Linked DNA regions of Homo sapiens: regions 1 and 2 are each linked to region 3. Evidence: promoter capture Hi-C in human tissues and cell types (Jung and others, 2019). All regions are on one chromosome and are shown on one strand. Each heading gives the region's core, a stretch centred on a gene start or on the middle of the fragment in contact. The rest is flanking DNA. Distances are from core to core; before and after follow the strand shown. Region 1 overlaps CRLF3 (cytokine receptor like factor 3). Region 2 has its middle 82 kb from the start of CRLF3. Region 3 holds the start of EVI2A (ecotropic viral integration site 2A).

Region 1 (3,550 bases), core at 399-2,898, 530 kb before region 3:
GCGTGAGCCACTGCGTCCAGCCGGTAGGTGCTATTTTTAACATACCCATTTTATAAGTGAGGAAAATGAGGCACGAAAAGAAAAAAAGATTAAAAATAGCTAAATAACCTGATCCCGACTACCTGGCTGATGACTGGTGGAACCAGGACTCAAACACAGGCATTCTGACTCTAGAATCAATCAATCTATCTATCTATTTTTTTGAAATGGAGTTTCATCCTTGTTGCCCAGGCTGGAGTGCAATGGCGCGATCTCAGCTCACTGCAACCTCTGCCTCCCTGGTTCAAGCGATTCTCCTGCCTCAGCCTCCTGAGTAGCTGGGATTACAGGGATGCACCACCATGCCCGGCTAGTTTTGTATTTTTAGTAGAGACGGGGTTTCACCATGTTGGTCAGGCTGGTCTCGAACTCCTGACCTCAGGTGATCCGCCTGCCTCGGCTTCCCAAAGTGCTGGGATTAGAGGCGTGAGCCACCACACCTGGCCTAATTTTGTATTTGTAGTAGAGACACGGTTTCACCATGTTGCTCAGGCTGGTCTTGGAACTCCTGACCTCAGGTGATCCACCCTCCTTGGCCTCCCAAAGTGCTGGGATTACGGAGTGAGCCACCGTGCCCGGCCTAGAATCTATATTCTTAACCATTTGTAGCCATGATGGCACACTTCTATTTTATATTCTAGCTCTAGACACATAGAAGGTTTGTCATAGTTGACATTATAATTTATGTAACTATTGCTGCCAGCGCCTAAATCTTCCATATAAGAATTTGCAATGATTTGATTACTATTTGTTAAGTAAATAAAGCATTTAAAAAGAACTATTATAATCCTAAAAAATCCCATTATGGTTATGAAGACACTATTCAAGCATGAAGAACTTCCTATGTGGCAAGTTTAAGCTTTTCCTTTTGTGTTTTCATTTCAGATGTCAGTACTTTGTGTGCTCTTGAAATAGGAAATGTACAGATCCCTATTGCCAGACACATCATTCTCTCCATCCAGAAAGCCAACTTTGCAAGGACAAAAAAAAAAATTAGTGTGAAACAAAATGTGGCTTTTCCAAAGACAGATGTGATTATTTATAGTCAATGTGGCCTCAAAATGTCATTGATTGTGAAATAGCAAACATGCAGGATCATAATATTTGGGTAGGTTTCTGAAGTTATTTCATATCTGAGCAGTCTAAAGAAGTATGGGGAGGAGGGGCCGGGCATAGTGGCTCACACCTGTAATCCCAGCACTTTGGGAGGCCAAGGAGGGTGGATCACCTGAGGTCAGGAGTTCCAAGACCACCCTAGGCAACATGGTGAAACCCCGTATCTACAAAAAATACAAAAATTAGCTGGGTGTGGTAGTGGCTCCTGTAATCCTAGCTACTCAGGAGGCTGAGGTGAGAGGGTCACTTGAACCTGTGAGATGGCGATTGCAGTGAGCTGAGATCATGCCACTGCACTTCAACCTGGGCGACAGAGCGAGACCTTGTCTTAAACAAAAAGAGGGGGAGAGCTGGGGAGGGGAATGAGAAAGAAAATAGGCCGGGTGCAGTGGCTCACGCCTGTAATCCCAGCACTTTGGGAGGCCGAGGTGGGCGGATCACAAAGTCAGGAGATTGAGACCATCCTGGCTAACACGGTGAAACCCCGTCTCTACTAAAAATACAATAAATTAGCCGGGCGTGGTAGCAGGCGCCTGTAGTCCCAGCTACTCAGGAGGCTGAGGTGAGAGGGTCGCTTGAACCTGAGAGGTGGAGGTTGCAGTGAGCCGATTGTGCCATTGCATTCCAGCCTGGGCAACAGAATGAGACTTTGTCTCAAAAAAAAAAAAAGAAAAGAAAAGAAAAGAAAGAAGGAAACCTTAAAAAAAATCAGAAAATCTTAGAAGCAAGGAAAGAGCAGGAATGTTCACATAGGAAGTGAGGGAGACCTGGAAGGAGGGGGTTGCTAGCAGACCTGGGCATCTAATGAGAGTGGGTCTAGAGACTGTTAAAATCCAGCCAGTATCACAGGTTTCTCTGGCTTCAGCAGCTCCAAGCCTTCCAGAAGCTTCAGCAGGGACTGACTGGGATAAATAACAAAGTAGTGCCTTCTTTTTTTTTTTTTTTTTTTTTTTTTTGAGACAGCATCTCACTCTGTTGCCCCGGCTAGAGTACAGTGGCGTGATCTCGGCTCACTGCAACCTCCGCCTCCTGGGTTCAAGCGATTCTCCTGCCTCAGCCTCCTGAGTAGCTGGGATTACAGGCACACACCACCACGCCCGGCTAATTTTTGTATTTATAGTAGAGATGGGGTTTCACCATATTGGCCAGGCTGGTCTCGAACTCCTGACCTCGTGATCTGCCCACCTCAGCCTCCCAAAGTGCTGGGATTACAGGCGTGAGCCACCGTGCCCGGCTAACGTAGTGCCTTCAAGAGTATAGTCTCCCTTCTAACTACTAGGCCCTTAAGTACCCTCAAAAAACTAAATATTGTTTCTCTTGATTCAAGTAGGCGCACTTGCTCCTCCCTTATGCCCTTATGCATGGAGTCCCCCTTGCATTCACATCTCTGGCTTCACTGCTGATGCCTGAAATTCCTTTAAACAAGGGGAGAAAACATTTCATTCCACAAAGAAAAAAATGACAAAAATGCAAAAGGCTGGCTACCATTATATTGAGTTTAACTGAATTTCAGTTAATCACCCTGCCAAGTGGGGCCTGGTGATGCATCTTTAGGAGATGCAAGAGAGACTCAACAGTTTATTGAGACCTAATGTGTCTTTCACATCACGGTCAGCAGAGGTGAATTTAAATCAATTTGTATAATTTCCAATGTCTTAATAAATATTTACTGAATGGTCTAAGAAATAAACCTAACTATGCAATCTATCAGACATTACCATGTGTCCAAGGAGGAAGAATTTAAAAAGCAGGAGAGCATCAGATCAAGTGGTGAAAGGTCATAAGAGGTAAAAGTTAAAGAGCTAAGGACACAGTAATAGAGAAACTGTAGACTTCAACACTAACTAGAATCATGTTAACTCTCCCATGAAAAAGAAGCAATACAGACCAGTCTGGAGTCGAACTGCCTGGATTTAAACCCTAGTTTTGGCATTTACTAGCTGTGTGACACTGGGTAAATAACTTCTCTATGCCTCAGTTTCCTCATCCCTAAAATAAATAACCCATCTATCTCACTGGGTTACCATGAAAATCAAATGAGTTAATACAAGTAAAATACTTAAGACAGTACATGGCACATAGTAAATACTGTTTAAATATTAACTGCAATTATTATTATTATCATCATTATTGCAGTCTGAGATATCTGGCCTGAATTTATCAAGTTAGGAAGCTCTGTCATTGCACAGAAATACCTTGTTCTCAGGAGAGTCACTAACCGAAGTGCTTCTGTAAACAAGGGACATAAGCAGAGAAGGGGTATGTAAGTACAGAAAACTCATGATTACCTGGGGAATAGTTAAATAGATTTTAGGTATTAGTTGTTTTTTTTTTTCCTCTCTCTCTCTTTGTTGGTATTTTTCTGTTTACTGAGTCATTCTTCATTAAGGGGTGA
Region 2 (3,251 bases), core at 429-2,928, 580 kb before region 3:
GTTTGTTTTGTTTTTTTCCTAAGGAAGGCTGGGTTGCTTTTGTGATTTTATCTGTTTCAAATGGTTAATATTCAGTTCCATTCACTTCTCCTGTATACAGCTTCATAAAGGTAGATGAGATGAACCTTAGAACATACAATCTTTTTCTGCAGACAGAATTTCTTAATCATTACATAAACGTTATTCTGAAAAGTTTTCAGTAATTTCATGGCCCTCCCCAATAGTAACTTTCAGTATTTATACTGAATAGCTCTTTGCAACTAGCCTAAAAGAGTCCTTTATTTTTGTTCTTTTTTCTCTCTTATCTGTGGAGATTGAAAATATATAGCCATCCTTCAGAAAGCACTTCTTACTATACTCTTGGATGAAACTTTAATATTGAAGTTTTCAGTAACTCTAAAGTTAGAGCTTTTTTTCCCTTAAGAGCTTCGCTATGGAGGCTCTTCTCATTCACTTGAAATATAGATTGCATCAATTCTGCTCTAATATCAGTAGTTTACTATAATATATTTACATTAACATTTCTCTACTGATAATTTTTACAGTAGTTGAATACAATAAATAGCTCTTTTTTGGCCAGGCATGGTGGCTCACACCTTTAATCCTAGCACTTTGGGAGACAGGGGTGGATAGATCACCTGAGGTCAGGAGTTCAAGACCAGCCTGACCAACATGGTGAAACCCTGTCTCTACTAAAAATGCAAAAATTAGCTGGGCATGGTGGTGCACACCTGTAATCCCAGCTACTCGGGAGGCTGAGGCAGGAGAATTGTCTGAACCCGGGAGGTGGAGGTTGCAGTGAGCCGAGATCACGTCATTGTACTCCAGCCTGGGCAACAAGAGTGACACTCCCATCTCAAAAACAAAACAAAACAAACAAAAAAAACAAACAAAAAACTCTTTTTGACGAATGAGATTATTCGTAATTTTTGGTGTCTGCATTCAAGCATTATAAAGTAACAAATTGATGTGGAATACATTTGGCTTTTCAAGTCCTAAAGAGGAAGGGACTATATGAGTATAAAGAGAAACATTTTTTCTAATTAAATTATATATGGGTATAGATTTTTAGACTCTATCTCTAGAACATGTCATAGACCACCTTAAGAACTAAGATGAAGCTTGTTTTACAATCCATTCATTCTTTAATTGCTTTGAGAAGTTATACTTAACTTTCAATTTTTTGGGAAATAGATTTTTTCTCTTAAACTTGTCGAGTTAAAAGGTAATAGTTTTGCGATTTGATGGATCATTCCCTAACTTCAAAATTTTTTCATGATGTCAACAACCATCTCTTTAATATGACATATCATTGAGCTTTAGGCTTTGCTGATAATCTTTGAGGATACCTTATGAACTTCAAATATATTTTATAGAATATTTCTTTTTTTATGTGATGGTGCTAGTACATATTTGTTGTGTTGCTTAGTAGACGTATTAAGTGTTTCAGAATACACATAATTTATATTTGTTTGGCTTAATTCAACAGATACTTGAATACCTACCAAGTAGAAGGCACTATGCCAGCACTGCATAGCTTTCCTTGAAGAAGAGCAATTACTGCCCTTCAGGAGTGTATAATCTAGTAGGAGAAATAAAATATTTACATGAGTTTTACATGTAGGAAACTGAATGAAAAGTAAGTGTCAAAATAAATATAAACCAAGTACCATGGGTAAGGAGAAATCACTGGTTTGGGAATAATTGGGTAAAAGGTTTAATGAAAACAAGTTAGCGTTTTAGATGGGGCTTGAAGGCTTGTGTGCTGTATTATACACCGTCTCCATAGTATTCATTGTTATGGCTAATCATCCATAGTTTATCTTACTAAAAATAATCAAAATCTGATTTCCATCTTGCCTATTAGAGTGACAATAAAGTATAATTTGTTTCTTTTATCCAGTTGAGAAGTGATTATTTTGTTTATCTGTTTCTTCCAGGAAAACATTTAAAGTTGATGATATGTTATCAAAAGTAGAGAAAATGAAAGGAGAGCAAGAATCTCATAGGTAAGATAACCTATCAGTTTACATTAAGTGATATACTTTAGGAAAGAGGAAAAATTACAGTGATCATTTTCCTAGTGATCACCTTGATATAAGGAGTTAGAAGGAATCTTAGAGGTCAGTTTGGTCCAAACTCACACACAAGTCAGAAATTAATTTCTGTAGCATTCCTGGCAGAGAATACTTAAGCTGTGGCTTGAATACCTCCAGTGTAGTTGTATTTATTATTCTTTATCTTTATTACCAGTTTCTTCCATTTTGAGTGAAACCTCTGACTTCTGCCGTTGGTCTTAACTCTACCACCTCATTTAAAGAGGGATACTCACATTTATAGTATATGTGCTAGGTACTGTGGCAGGGACTTCACAATATCACGTATCTTGTAAGTTATTCTCAAATATGAGAGGGGTTCTCTTTTTTTCCATCTTTTTCTTCTCATTTAAATCTGTCAGGCAACATATTCATAACTTTTATTTCATATTTGAAATATGTTTCTCACATAGTTTCAGAAACTTGAACATTTGGACAGAATCTACTTATTGTACATTAGCAAATATATACCTAGAACGAATCCCTAAATGTTCTGACTAGTCTGATATCTGTCTACTCTAGATAGTATGCTTCTATTTATTTTTTGATATGTAAACTTTATTTTTTGATATTTTTGATAGAAAATTGAATATTCTAAGGAGAAACAGCAGCTTGGGTGGTGTTTGTTCATTCATTAACTACCTTTAGAGAGAATGCAGAACTAAAAATATTAGATTCTTAAAAAAATAGAGTTGGAAAATTTGTCACAGTGCATTTTTCTTTTCCTTCTAGTTTTAAATCACAGCTTACGAATTTAGATAGGATACACACTTAATGATGCATCATTTATGCATCTCATTGTTTTCCCATTGTTCTGTTAACTGGTAAAAGACTTCCTTTTTTTCAGTTTGGCTTCCTTCTACTTTAAGTTTGGCTTTGGAATTAAGTGATTTTTTTACTTGGATTGTAAAATGATATTTTTTATTTTATATCCTGCAATCTTGTGGGGTTGAAGTATAATTTATATTTCCATGTCTAGGCAGTCCTGACTTGTAAATAAACTGTGATAGTCCATTCTAGAAGCTGAGATCCTGAATTGTTACCTGGTACATCTGTTAATGCCCAGGGAGGACCCTATAAGATAGAACTGAGAATATTCGCAGTGCACACACATTTTTCTTTACTAGAATTTGTATTCCAGATTCTTGTCTGGTC
Region 3 (3,623 bases), core at 634-3,133:
AACCTAAAAATCTGAAGAAAAAAAAAAAAAAACAGCAAATTTCCTCTGAGTAGACTTAAAAGTTCAACAAAAGTTGCTGGGTTTTCTTTTAAAGCATCATTTATACCTAGCATTTTTTCTGATTTTGACATAATTGTAAAAAAAAATGTGTAATAAAATAGAAATAGAGCATCAGGATCTTGATGATTTGGGATGAAGTGGCAGGTTATAAGCATCTCAACAGATAATTGAAAATGTTGAATTTCCGCTTTGGCCCTGAGCTTGCTGGAAACTAGTACAAAAAGGAGACAAGTTATATTATACATTTTTTAAATCTACCAAATGATTGATTTAAATAGAAATGGCATATCTTAGAATTTAACAGTTCCATGTACTGCTAACCCAGCAGGAAAGATTTATAATCATTATTAAGGTATCTTATAATAATATACCAGTTTGTCTTGAGCTACTTTTGAAAGGAGTATTTTATTGTTAGCATTTATTTGAATGAACTAAAAGCAAAACTATATTGTTCTCCTGAGATTTACTAAATGAAATTGCCTGGTTAAGAACCCTACGTATGCTATAGAAATTCTTCTCAAATGTACTTAGGAGTCCTTTTATTTAAAAAAAAAAAAAAAAGGCAGATTCTTACCTAGCTAGTATAGGTAGGGCCTGAAAGTCTTTGTTTCCAAACCAACTCCTAAGCAACATGGATGCCACTGCTAGTCAGGCTTTTGAACATCAAGGTTTTATAAGAAATGGTTGTTATATGTCATTGGCTGACATTTGTATACTATTAAAATACAGAAATTGAAAATAAGAAATGTGATACGTTGAGTTATGCAAACAAAAGTAGCATGTAATAAACAATGCTAACTGGAGACTATATTTCATATTAATAGTAGGGAGGAAAAACTATTAAATATTCCAGGATTAAGATTACTTTTTAGATTATGACCTTTAGTAGACAATTAAAGGCCCAAGTCACTGGCTTTTGTATAATAGTGTTCAGCTTTAATTTTTAAGTTTAGTGACATAAATCTTTGGATATTTCATGATTCTTCCACAAAAAGAAATACTTGAAATTGGATTAGCAAGTAATTTCCATCTTTTTATACTAGACTGGACTTCTGTATTAGATGCTAGAATGATTTAAAGTAGATTATTCTTTTCACATTAGTTCATTAACAGTGTAGTATACATCATAGTATTGGTACACATTTTAACAGTGCTTACCACGGAACAGATAATAGGCCTGCTGTTGATTGTCTTCAGCCAGATGTACTGCAGTGCCCAAATAAACAAACTGTATGACAAAATGAGACTTTCTCTTGCCCTTACAAATGCCTGAGAATTGAGGACTGTTTTTACTCCAGTTTATGCCTTGGAGGCCAGGTTGTGTTATCAGAAGTTTTCTTATATCTGATCATTTTCAGTAGAATTTATTTTCAGTAGAATTTGTAATGTCCAAGCATTAGTAATGAGAAATTTATTTTTTAACTTTTGAAAAATAACAAAACATTTCCAGTTTACTTGAGGAAACCAAACTTAGATCCTTCGTAATCCTAATTTAAAACTCCATGGCGATGGCAAATTTTTTCATTTCTAACTTAAAATTTATGTAACAGGACAGAAAAAAAAAGTATACATTTTCAGTCACAATTCTAGTTTGTTAGTGAGATTCTTACACACTTTGATAGCATTTCCTCGAACACTAATCTGTCAGACGTTAGAAGTGAAAAGGCATAAGAAAAGCCGTATATATATGACCTACCTTACAAAATGCTTGGTCAAAATCTGATTATAACGTGATTTTGATAAACCACTTCTTTTCTTGTCTTCTTTTTAAAGCAGAATAGACTTGGAGAATATGAGCCTTAAAGTAAATCTGCAGTAAAAAAGGATATGTGCAGCTAGTTTTCCACTTTTAAAACCAAACCACAGATGACACATTTCCTTTCCACTGCAACTAAAGCACATGTCACAGGAGGGAAAAAAAAAAAAACAACGAAAAAGCTCCAACTTCTCTAGTTGGCCACTGGCATGACAGGAGGCTTTGTAGAACCAATCCCCGCCTCCAGAGCAGGGAGGGTTTTCCACTTAATGCCTTTTGACAGTATGCTCATTCTATAGGCCTGCTACATGCTTTAGTGTCATTCAAAAGAGGTTTTGAAATGGTATCTTCCATTTCAAATCTTCTCTAAAAGACTTATTTGAAATCTACAGACTGATTTGAAAATGTGAGTTTGGAGTCCATGGGATACTGATCAGATAATGTAACAATTGTGGAACTGCAGCAATTATTTGAGAAAATATCTAGTAAACTTAGATTATATGGGACAGAAAATGCTTTCGTGTGGTGTAGTGTGTGTATACACACACACACACACACACACACACACACACACAACTGTCAAACATCCTGTCATCACCTCAAGTTTAACATGACTGAAACAGACTTTAAGAACTAGGTATGGGCTGAACACGGTGGCTCACACCTGTAATCCCAGCACGTTGGGAGGGTTGACGCAGGCAGATCACTTGAGGCCAGGAGTTCAAGACCAGCCTGGCCAACATAGAGAAAACCTGTCTCTACTAAAAATATAAAAATTAACCAGGCAGGGTAGCATGCACCTGTAGTCCCACCTACTTGGGAGGCTGAGACAGGAGAATAGCTTGAACCCGGGACGTGGAGGCTGCAGAGATCATGAGATCTTGGCTGCATGAGCTAAGATCATGCCACTGCACTCCAGCCAGGAAGACAGAGTAAGACTCTGTCTCAAAAAAAAAAAAAAAAAAAAAAAAAAAAAAAAAAAGAACTGGATATGGCAGCACATATCTGTAATCCCAGCTACTAGGTAGGTTGAGGTAGGAGGATCACTGGTGGAGCCCAGGAGTTCAAATCCAGCCTGGGTAACATAGCAAGACTCCATCTCTTAAAAATTAATTAAATTAATGAAATAAAAAGAACTTTATTTTTTCTTTAAAGGAGGCTGCCTGTGACAGTCTTCTTGTTTCTGTTCATGATAGCAACATTCTAATATCAGAGGCTTAGTATACAACACATCATTTTAATTTAAGTCCTCTCAGTCCTGATCAGACTTTGAATCATGTTGGTCCTTCCTTCATATTGTTGGATCAGTTTCTTTTTCCCTGTTTTTACTGTCAACAGTACTATTTTAGATCCTTATCAGGTCATACCTAGACTCTACAGTGCCTTTTCGGTAGCCCTGAATCCTTCTTATATCTTGTATACATCACTGTCTTTGGTCATACCACCCTTTCTTTAAGGGAAAATAAAACCGGTTGAACAGTTCCCTAATACATACAACAATGATTCAGAAATGTTTGTGTACATAAACATCAGATGAGAAGATTGTTTAAAAATTATAAAAGCAGGACATGGTGGCTCACACCTGTAATCTCAGCACTTTGGGAGGCTGAGGCGGGAGGATTACTTGAGCCACAGAAATTCGAGACCAGCCTGGGCAGCATGGCAAAATCCTGTCTCTACAAAAAATACAAAAAAACAAAAACAAAAAACTAGCCGGGCATGGTGGCGCTTATCTGTAGTCCCAGCTACTCAGGAGGCTGAGGTGGGAGGATCACCTGAGCCTGGGGAGGTCAAGGCTACAGTGAGC

What was found. Contacts are between HindIII fragments. The study calls those that stand out against the background at their distance.
Region 1: a contact is called between a fragment that was not itself captured here and the fragment with the promoter of EVI2A in region 3, in 1 of the 25 tissues and cell types used here (aorta).
Region 2: a contact is called between a fragment that was not itself captured here and the fragment with the promoter of EVI2A in region 3, in 1 of the 25 tissues and cell types used here (lymphoblastoid cells).

The regions. Positions count from the first base shown.
Region 1 is chr17:30,786,515-30,790,064 of GRCh38, forward strand. All of the region lies in intron 6 of CRLF3 (cytokine receptor like factor 3), which reads right to left. It also overlaps the pseudogene SUZ12P1. Among named protein-coding and RNA genes, the nearest start is that of CRLF3, 36 kb to the right of the region's middle. The HindIII fragment of the contact is 4,601 bases long and covers 1-3,550 here.
Region 2 is chr17:30,741,361-30,744,611 of GRCh38, forward strand. It overlaps the pseudogene SUZ12P1. Among named protein-coding and RNA genes, the nearest start is that of CRLF3, 82 kb to the right of the region's middle. The HindIII fragment of the contact is 6,485 bases long and covers 1-3,251 here.
Region 3 is chr17:31,319,739-31,323,361 of GRCh38, forward strand. It overlaps EVI2A (ecotropic viral integration site 2A), which reads right to left and starts at 1,884. Exons shown (of 2, transcript NM_014210.4): 1 at 1,757-1,884. The region is part of intron 36 of NF1 (neurofibromin 1); the gene reads left to right. The HindIII fragment of the contact is 10,482 bases long and covers 1-3,623 here.